Linked DNA regions of Homo sapiens: region 1 is linked to region 2. Evidence: promoter capture Hi-C in human tissues and cell types (Jung and others, 2019). All regions are on one chromosome and are shown on one strand. Each heading gives the region's core, a stretch centred on a gene start or on the middle of the fragment in contact. The rest is flanking DNA. Distances are from core to core; before and after follow the strand shown. Region 1 holds the start of KRTCAP3 (keratinocyte associated protein 3). Region 2 holds the start of MPV17 (mitochondrial inner membrane protein MPV17).

Region 1 (4,153 bases), core at 1,462-3,961, 120 kb after region 2:
GTACAAAGCCTTGTGCTAAGTAGAATGAGAGCTATAAAGATGAACACACTGGGGGCTTGCCAGATGCCTGCTCCAGTTCCTTGTTTCCTTTTCTAGGAGTTCATTCAAAAGTGCCTGCAGTCTGAGCCTGCTCGCAGACCAACAGCCAGAGAACTTCTGTTCCACCCAGCATTGTTTGAAGTGCCCTCGCTCAAACTCCTTGCGGCCCACTGCATTGTGGGACACCAACGTGAGTCGTCTTGGCCCTATGGGGAATAGTCTTCCAATCTGGAGCCCTGTAACTATCACTGGCATGCTTGTTTTCCTCTTTATTTCCAAAGGGATTCTTTTTTTTTTTTTTTTTTTTTTTTTTTTTTTTTTTTGAGACAGAGTCTCACTCTCTCTCAGGCTGGAGTGCAATGGCTTGATCTCAGCTCATTGCAACCTCCAGCTCCCAGGCTCAAGCGATTCTTGTGCCTTAGCCTCCCGAAGAGCTGGGATTACAGGCATGTGCCACCATGCCTGGGTAATTTTTGTACTTTTAGTAGAGATGGGGTTTCGCCATGTTGGCCAGGCTGGTCTTGAACTGGCGTCAAGTGATCTGTCCGCCTCGGCTTCCCAAAGTGCTGGGATTACAGGCATGAGCCACTGTGCCAGGCCTCCAAAGGGATTCTTTACCCCTTTGCCTGCATGCCTTCTTTGACATTTAATCTGACTATCCCTTCATAATATCCCACTCCATCATGCCCTCCAGACATGATCCCAGAGAACGCTCTAGAGGAGATCACCAAAAACATGGATACTAGTGCCGTACTGGCTGAAATCCCTGCAGGACCAGGAAGAGAACCAGTTCAGACTTTGTGAGTAACTGAGAGGGTCTGAAAGGGGCAGATTGGTCACGACCACTCTTGAGGCTCTGTAAACTGTCCATTCTCTGGGAATGCTTGAATTTGCTATTTTGCTTGTTTCTTTCCTTCCATCTCCTTTCTCTTTTCTCGTCCAGGTACTCTCAGTCACCAGCTCTGGAATTAGATAAATTCCTTGAAGATGTCAGGTGAGAGCAGAGTGAGAAGCAGGCTTTCTTGAGGAAGCAGGCGGGGTTGGGTATCCTAAGGCGTTCACAGAGCCCATGTGACCTGTCTTCATCTCCCTCCAGGAATGGGATCTATCCTCTGACAGCCTTTGGGCTGCCTCGGCCCCAGCAGCCACAGCAGGAGGAGGTGACATCACCTGTCGTGCCCCCCTCTGTCAAGACTCCGACACCTGAACCAGCTGAGGTGGAGACTCGCAAGGTGGGGGCTGTGTGGGTGTGGATTGTCTCCATGGTTGTGGTGGAAGGGAGAGAGGACATCTCAAATAAGGCTCTATCCTTTAGAGAAAATGCTCCCTAGCAGCCATGCCCTATGGGCTCGAAAGACGTCTAGGTATTGGGTTTTTTATGGACAGGTCTCTAGAGTGACCCTCTCTTCCCTCCCTAGGTGGTGCTGATGCAGTGCAACATTGAGTCGGTGGAGGAGGGAGTCAAACACCACGTAAGGCTCAGGGCTAGGGTTGCGCAGGGCTAGTAGCCAGAGGGTAGGGAAGAAAAGTCTCATTTTCTGACTGTCCTATTCTCCAGCTGACACTTCTGCTGAAGTTGGAGGACAAACTGAACCGGCACCTGAGCTGTGACCTGATGCCAAGTGAGTCTCTCCTTTCCCTCAGAGGATGGAGAGTCTATGAGCCTTATCTTTTAGGGACATATTCAGGGGTGGGGGAGGTGACAAGGCAGTAACACATTGACTCACATAGAATGACTATCTTAGACCCTAAAGCAGTGGGTGGATCTGACTGACAGTTTAGCCCTAGTGGGGCTGTCTGAAGGGCCCCAGGTCCCTCAGTCCCGTACTGTACTCACCCCCTCCTGTTTCTTTGTCAGATGAGAATATCCCCGAGTTGGCGGCTGAGCTGGTGCAGCTGGGCTTCATTAGTGAGGTGAGGTTTCTGCCTTCATCTGCCCTGGCTGCCCCCATGCCTTCTCTTCTCTCAGCCCCCATCTTACTGAGCTCTTCTCCCCCAGGCTGACCAGAGCCGGTTGACTTCTCTGCTAGAAGAGACCTTGAACAAGTTCAATTTTGCCAGGAACAGTACCCTCAACTCAGCCGCTGTCACCGTCTCCTCTTAGAGCTCACTCGGGCCAGGCCCTGATCTGCGCTGTGGCTGTCCCTGGACGTGCTGCAGCCCTCCTGTCCCTTCCCCCCAGTCAGTATTACCCTGTGAAGCCCCTTCCCTCCTTTATTATTCAGGAGGGCTGGGGGGGCTCCCTGGTTCTGAGCATCATCCTTTCCCCTCCCCTCTCTTCCTCCCCTCTGCACTTTGTTTACTTGTTTTGCACAGACGTGGGCCTGGGCCTTCTCAGCAGCCGCCTTCTAGTTGGGGGCTAGTCGCTGATCTGCCGGCTCCCGCCCAGCCTGTGTGGAAAGGAGGCCCACGGGCACTAGGGGAGCCGAATTCTACAATCCCGCTGGGGCGGCCGGGGCGGGAGAGAAAGGTGGTGCTGCAGTGGTGGCCCTGGGGGGCCATTCGATTCGCCTCAGTTGCTGCTGTAATAAAAGTCTACTTTTTGCTAAAAGCGTCGTGTGTTCGCGCCTTTCCCGCCAGGGGGAGCGGGCCCGGGGCGGAGGCGGGGCCCAGGTGGGAGGGGGACCCGGGACGGAGGCGGGGCCCAGGTTGGGGCGGGGCCGGGCCCAGGTACAGCGGCCCTGCGGCTGGCGCGGCGGACGGGATGAGGCGCTGCAGTCTCTGCGCTTTCGGTAACTTCCGGGCCCTGGCGTCTCGTCTCCTTACCCTGGGGCTACCCTTGCCCCGTCCTACTGCCCGCGGTTAACCCGCCGCGAGCCGCCTCTCCCCTCCCCGCCCGACTCAACCCTGCCCTCCCCCGTGCTTTGCAGACGCCGCCCGGGGGCCCAGGCGGCTGATGCGTGTGGGCCTCGCGCTGATCTTGGTGGGCCACGTGAACCTGCTGCTGGGGGCCGTGCTGCATGGCACCGTCCTGCGGCACGTGGCCAATCCCCGCGGCGCTGTCACGCCGGAGTACACCGTAGCCAATGTCATCTCTGTCGGCTCGGGGCTGCTGGTGAGCGCGGCAGGCGACCCGGGCGGGGGCCGGGCTCCCGGAGAGCCCAGCAGGCCAAAGGCTTTGTGTCTTCCACAGAGCGTTTCCGTGGGACTTGTGGCCCTCCTGGCGTCCAGGAACCTTCTTCGCCCTCCACTGGTGAGAGGGACTTCCCTGGAGCTTTTAACGAGTAGGCTTGAGTCAGGGAAATGGGGGCTGACTGAGCTTGGTCTTTCAATAGATTGGAGGAGCCTCAGAGAAACTGGGTGTCTAGTCACTGGGAGAGTTAGCCAGGCCCAGGCTGCTCACCCTGATCTCCTGTCCCTGCCAGCACTGGGTCCTGCTGGCACTAGCTCTGGTGAACCTGCTCTTGTCCGTTGCCTGCTCCCTGGGCCTCCTTCTTGCTGTGTCACTCACTGTGGCCAACGGTGGCCGCCGCCTTATTGCTGACTGCCACCCAGGACTGCTGGATCCTCTGGTACCACTGGATGAGGGGCCGGGACATACTGACTGCCCCTTTGACCCCACAAGAATCTATGTGAGCACATTCTCTTCCTTCTTGTGGTCTACAAAGCCTTGGTCCTGCCCTTTTAATTTCCCCTATTTGCTGCACTTGCCCTACTCCCTCCTACTCCCCATCCTTCTTGCTTTTCAGGATACAGCCTTGGCTCTCTGGATCCCTTCTTTGCTCATGTCTGCAGGGGAGGCTGCTCTATCTGGTTACTGCTGTGTGGCTGCACTCACTCTACGTGGAGTTGGGCCCTGCAGGAAGGACGGACTTCAGGGGCAGGTAAGGAAGGCAAACAGGAAGGGTTCATTCCACAGAGACTGGCTGTGTTGAAAAGATGCTGACCGGCCGGGTGCGGAGGCTCACACCTGTAATCCCAGCACTTTGGGAGGCTGAGGCAGGCGGATCACTTGAGGTCAGGAGTTTGAGACCAGCTTGGACAACATGGTGAAACCTCGTCTCTACTAAAAATACAAAAAATTAGGTGGGGTGGTGGGCGCCTGTAATCCCAGCTACTTGGAAGGCTGAGGCAGGAGAATCGCTTGAACCCGGAAGGCGGAGGTTGCAGTGAA
Region 2 (4,141 bases), core at 909-3,408:
TGGGAGGCTACATTTTGCTTCAGGGCTGAGCTGGGACGTCAGCATAGCCTCAGGAAGACTGAGGCTGTGGAGCTGAAGGGCTCCAGCACCAAGAGCCCAGAACTCCAGCCACATGTCGGCACCTAGGCCTCCTTGGAGCTCTAGCTCCTGCCCTTGTCAGCTGCAGATGCCTCAGGTAGGGAAATATAAGGACTCTTTCCCTCCCTATTCTTGATGACCACAAGGGGGAATCTTCCATCTGGCAGTTATGGGCCCTGAGGGAATCTGAGCCTGGGCAAAGGGCCCAGCGTGTCAGTTCCCATCATAGCCACACTGTCCAGCATGAGTCACCACACACGTAGCCAGGTGAGTCATACAGGCTGACGGACGCTGAGGACAGGACAAGAGGTGGTTGGGCACCGGAGACTGGAGAGGGGCCCAGGGAAGGGCCAAAGAATCCATCTCCTGGCCATTCATGCAGTTAAGTTTCTGTGCCGATGCAGGGCTGTTCTGGTCACAGGATCCCTGTTCCACTCTGGCCTTCAGTAGCCCCCAATCCCTTCCAATAGTCCTCTTCTCAGAAGGCCAGTCATCACTAGAATCCTGTTCCCCTTCTCTAAACATGGGCAAGACCTCATCTTAATGTGATCACTCTTTGCACCCCAATGTTCTAAGGCCTTCTGACATTCCCCCTCTAAGACTTACTTATCTTCATGCCATCCTCTTACATTAGCTAACTTGCAAAATGAAGATGGTAACAAATGCAGGTAGGTCACTGCATTACCTCTGTGAGGTTAGTACTCAATCACTGCATTTGGAGTGACTGGTATCTGATCACTCCAAATGGATCAGGATGGAGTGATCAGATACCAATATACTAACCTTGGAGATACATATTTAGGCAGTAAATGATAACAAAAGCAAATGAACGATATAAACAAAACTCAGGAAATTTTGGGTGAATTACGGAGAGGCACTCAAGAGGTCTCAAAGCTGATTACTGACACAGGAGTGTTCAGTTTTAATGCCATTTAAACTGTACATACACATCTTAATCATTCTTTTGTATGTTTCACAATAAAAAATACCAAGAAAAACTGGGGTAAGAGTCTTGATTCAGCACTTATTAGGTGTGATCTAATGTGGACTCAAGTAACCCTCCTAGCTCACACACCTTTGTGGGGGCCCTATGCCATAACGTATATGAAAGTGCTTTGCATACGGTAAAATGTTTTCCAAGTTGAGGCCTCCTGGGGCAATGCCTTTATCCTTCAGGGCTGACTGTTCAGCTTTTTGAGGACTTTGAAATCCTAAAACCCTACTGCACAGCTTGGCCAACTACGCATACCCCTTAAAAACAGCCTTGGGGACCACCCTCCAAAACAGACTGGGGACAGTGTAGGATGAAAGACAGCCAACCCTTCAAGAGAGCCGAATAGAAACAGGAAGTGAGGGTGGTGCAGTGGGGCAAGCCTCTGGCTTCCAAATCAGTCTGCCCTGGTCCCACTCAAGTCCTAGAGGGACACTCACCAGCTGTCAGGACCTGTACTTTCCACGGGTGAGCGGCCAGGGCCCGCTGGTATGCCCGCCAGAGTGCCATGCTTCCTGTCAAGCCAAGAGGAGAGGGGGTCACCCCCACCGTCCCTCTCCACGACTAAGAAGCCGCCTGACATTCCCTTGTGCCCACTCCCTTCCCCTTCCCACTTCCAATGTGACTTAAAGGGGCAGAGGCCACATGAAGGATGCTTCCCAGACAGCTTCCTGTCGCAGGAGTCGCCTTAGACAATTGGGGAAGAGAGAAAGGCTGTGGGAAGCTATGGACTCCTGGTAGCAGCCACCAGCCACCCCAACCTCATTCCTGAAGCCAGACCACCTGGAAGCCTCCGTTCCCGACGGAGACACTCATGAGGACAGCTTTGCTCTGGCTTCTACCCAGAGCTTGGGTGCCTCAAAAGATAGCTTGGTCCGTCTCCAGATTCAGACTTGGTTGGAACCAGTTTGTAACCTTCCTGAGTCCAGCTCCAAACCGAAAATAGGGCCCGTCACTGCCCGGATATAGGATGACCACACACCTTGTGGGCACTCATGGCTTGCGACGCTTTAAGCCAGAGACCGCAGATCACCCGCCACTCACCTGAGCGCCGAGCCTCCCTCCCACGTGACAGGCTGGCCTAGGAACTTCCGCCACAAGTCCCGCCCCTTCCTCCCAGCGTCCTTCGGATTACGCAGCCAGGACAGGAATGGGGGTGGACCGAGCCATGAATACCCGTGGAGAGCGGCCTAACTCGGCCACCCACTCTGTGAGAGACCCCTTTTCCAGCTGGACTGTGCCGGACCCTGGTGTGGGGCCCGCCAGCCATATTTCTCACCTAAGTTCGACCCTCTGCCTCCTCCTGCCCCTTCTCTCCGCGCGAGACCCGGGCCTCTCTCAATCCGGTAGTCTCATTGTTCAGCCCACCCTCCCCGCATAACTGGCCATAACTACGATCCTTGTCTCAGCAATCGTAGTTAGGGAACTATAAGTTATAGTTAAGTGCGTGTTTTGTCTCTAGGTTCTTCACTGGCCTCAACTGTGAGCTCATGAGTGGGTAAAACTGGGGTCGTTCATATTTGTCGTCCTCATAGCAACTATTTCAGTGCTTTGCCGCAAACAGCCACTTAAGAAATACTGCGTATGTATGATTCTTCCACAGAAAGCATTGGAATTAGAACCTCAGAAGACATTAGGTATTGGCTCCCAAACTAACGGGCTGTGCAGCCTTGGTCATGACTAGACTTGATGTTAAGGCTCTGCATCTGTAAAATGAGGGAGGTTACACTATTGACTTTCCAAACTCGGCTCCTCAGTTCTAGGGATTTTTCAGATGTTTGTGTGTGGGGATGAGAGGGGCAGCATTACTACAGCTGCTTCTCCAACTTTTTTTTCCAAGTATATACTTCTCAAAAGACCCATTTTTAACGGGGCCCACAACTGCATGTTTGAAAACCAGTAAGCTAGGTGATTTCTTAATCCCCTTCCAGCTCTAACATTCTAAGAGTCTGTGAATATAGAGCAATATCCTTTCTAGAGCGTTGGAAATGTCTACAATATCCCTGGCAATGGACTTGTCAGGCTGGCAGGCTTTACTTATCTCCAGGGAGCCCACACGTCAGGAGGCACACTCTTTCAGGCTCTCCACCTGCCCAGCTCCACCCCCAATTTACTCAATTCCTTTATGATTAAGGCAGGGAGACTCCTGCCACAAATCCTGGAGAAACAGAGTAAGGAAGCAAGAGAAGTCAATGTCACAAACATTTAACTAAAATGCTATTTGCAAAACAGCATGCTAGAGGAGTGAACTGACAAAAGTAAATGTAATAGGAGACCAAATGTGGTAGGCTGTAAAGTTATATTCTGAAGTTAGACTGAGTTCAAATCCCCAGCACCACCACTTACTAGTTATATGACCTTGACCTTTTACAGACAGCTTACCCTCTCCAACTCTTTTATCATTAAGTAAAATGGCAATACCTACCTCATACAAGTGACACATGCGAAGTGCCTAAAATGGATCAAGTGCTTAATGCTTGTTTATCCTTTTTCCTCCCTTCCCCCTTGGGAACACAAGGGAGGGAAACTATTTTTTACTGGAGAAAACTGGGAAGCTCTTTGGTGAAGGTGGAATTTGAGCCGGGACCTTGAAGGATGAATTGAACTCAGGTGAAGATGGTGGAAAAAGACACTCTGGCGAAGGGAGGAATATGAGAAGAGGAATAAAGGTAGAGAAGTGTATGAACAATGGATAGTATGAAGTGGGTATATTGGGAGGGAGGGTTAGAAAGAGAAAAGGCTTGTTAGAGAAAAAGAACAAGGTCAAGACTAGGGCTGAGACTCAGTTGCAGAAGCAGGGCTGCCAGCACCAATCTACAGCCTCAAGTGTGGATCCCCAGGTCTCATCTTTTCTACCACTGAAAATAGGAAGGGGGCTGCCCTGTAGAATTGAGTAAAGCTTCTCTTCGACAGAAGGCACTTGCGTAACAGCTCAAAAAACAAAACTGGCTCAATGTGAGCTGGATCCCAATAGGGTAGTGCAACACTTGGCTTCTTTGCACTGACATGGGTTGTGGTCTCTGCTGTTGATAGACTTGGGTTTCCTCCAGGTCTATTTTCTCATCTGTACAG

The links. Contacts are between HindIII fragments. The study calls those that stand out against the background at their distance.
Region 1: a contact is called between the fragment with the promoter of KRTCAP3 here and the fragment with the promoter of MPV17 in region 2, in 1 of the 25 tissues and cell types used here (small bowel).

The regions. Positions count from the first base shown.
Region 1 is chr2:27,439,670-27,443,822 of GRCh38, forward strand. It overlaps KRTCAP3 (keratinocyte associated protein 3), which reads left to right and starts at 2,712. Exons shown (of 7, transcript NM_173853.4): 1 at 2,712-2,771; 2 at 2,910-3,094; 3 at 3,173-3,232; 4 at 3,405-3,611; 5 at 3,729-3,863. The coding sequence starts at 2,744. NRBP1 (nuclear receptor binding protein 1) reads left to right here. Exons shown (of 18, transcript NM_013392.4): 11 at 97-229; 12 at 734-839; 13 at 983-1,033; 14 at 1,136-1,271; 15 at 1,458-1,511; 16 at 1,598-1,661; 17 at 1,898-1,953; 18 at 2,039-2,590. The coding sequence ends at 2,143. RefSeq lists an enhancer at 2,847-3,389. The HindIII fragment of the contact is 11,668 bases long and covers 1-4,153 here.
Region 2 is chr2:27,320,939-27,325,079 of GRCh38, forward strand. MPV17 (mitochondrial inner membrane protein MPV17) reads right to left here and starts at 2,159. Exons shown (of 8, transcript NM_002437.5): 1 at 2,114-2,159; 2 at 1,510-1,584. The coding sequence starts at 1,579. RefSeq lists enhancers at 1,554-1,603, 1,614-1,703, 1,714-1,763, 1,814-1,873, 1,996-2,968 and 3 more. The HindIII fragment of the contact is 20,851 bases long and covers 1,854-4,141 here.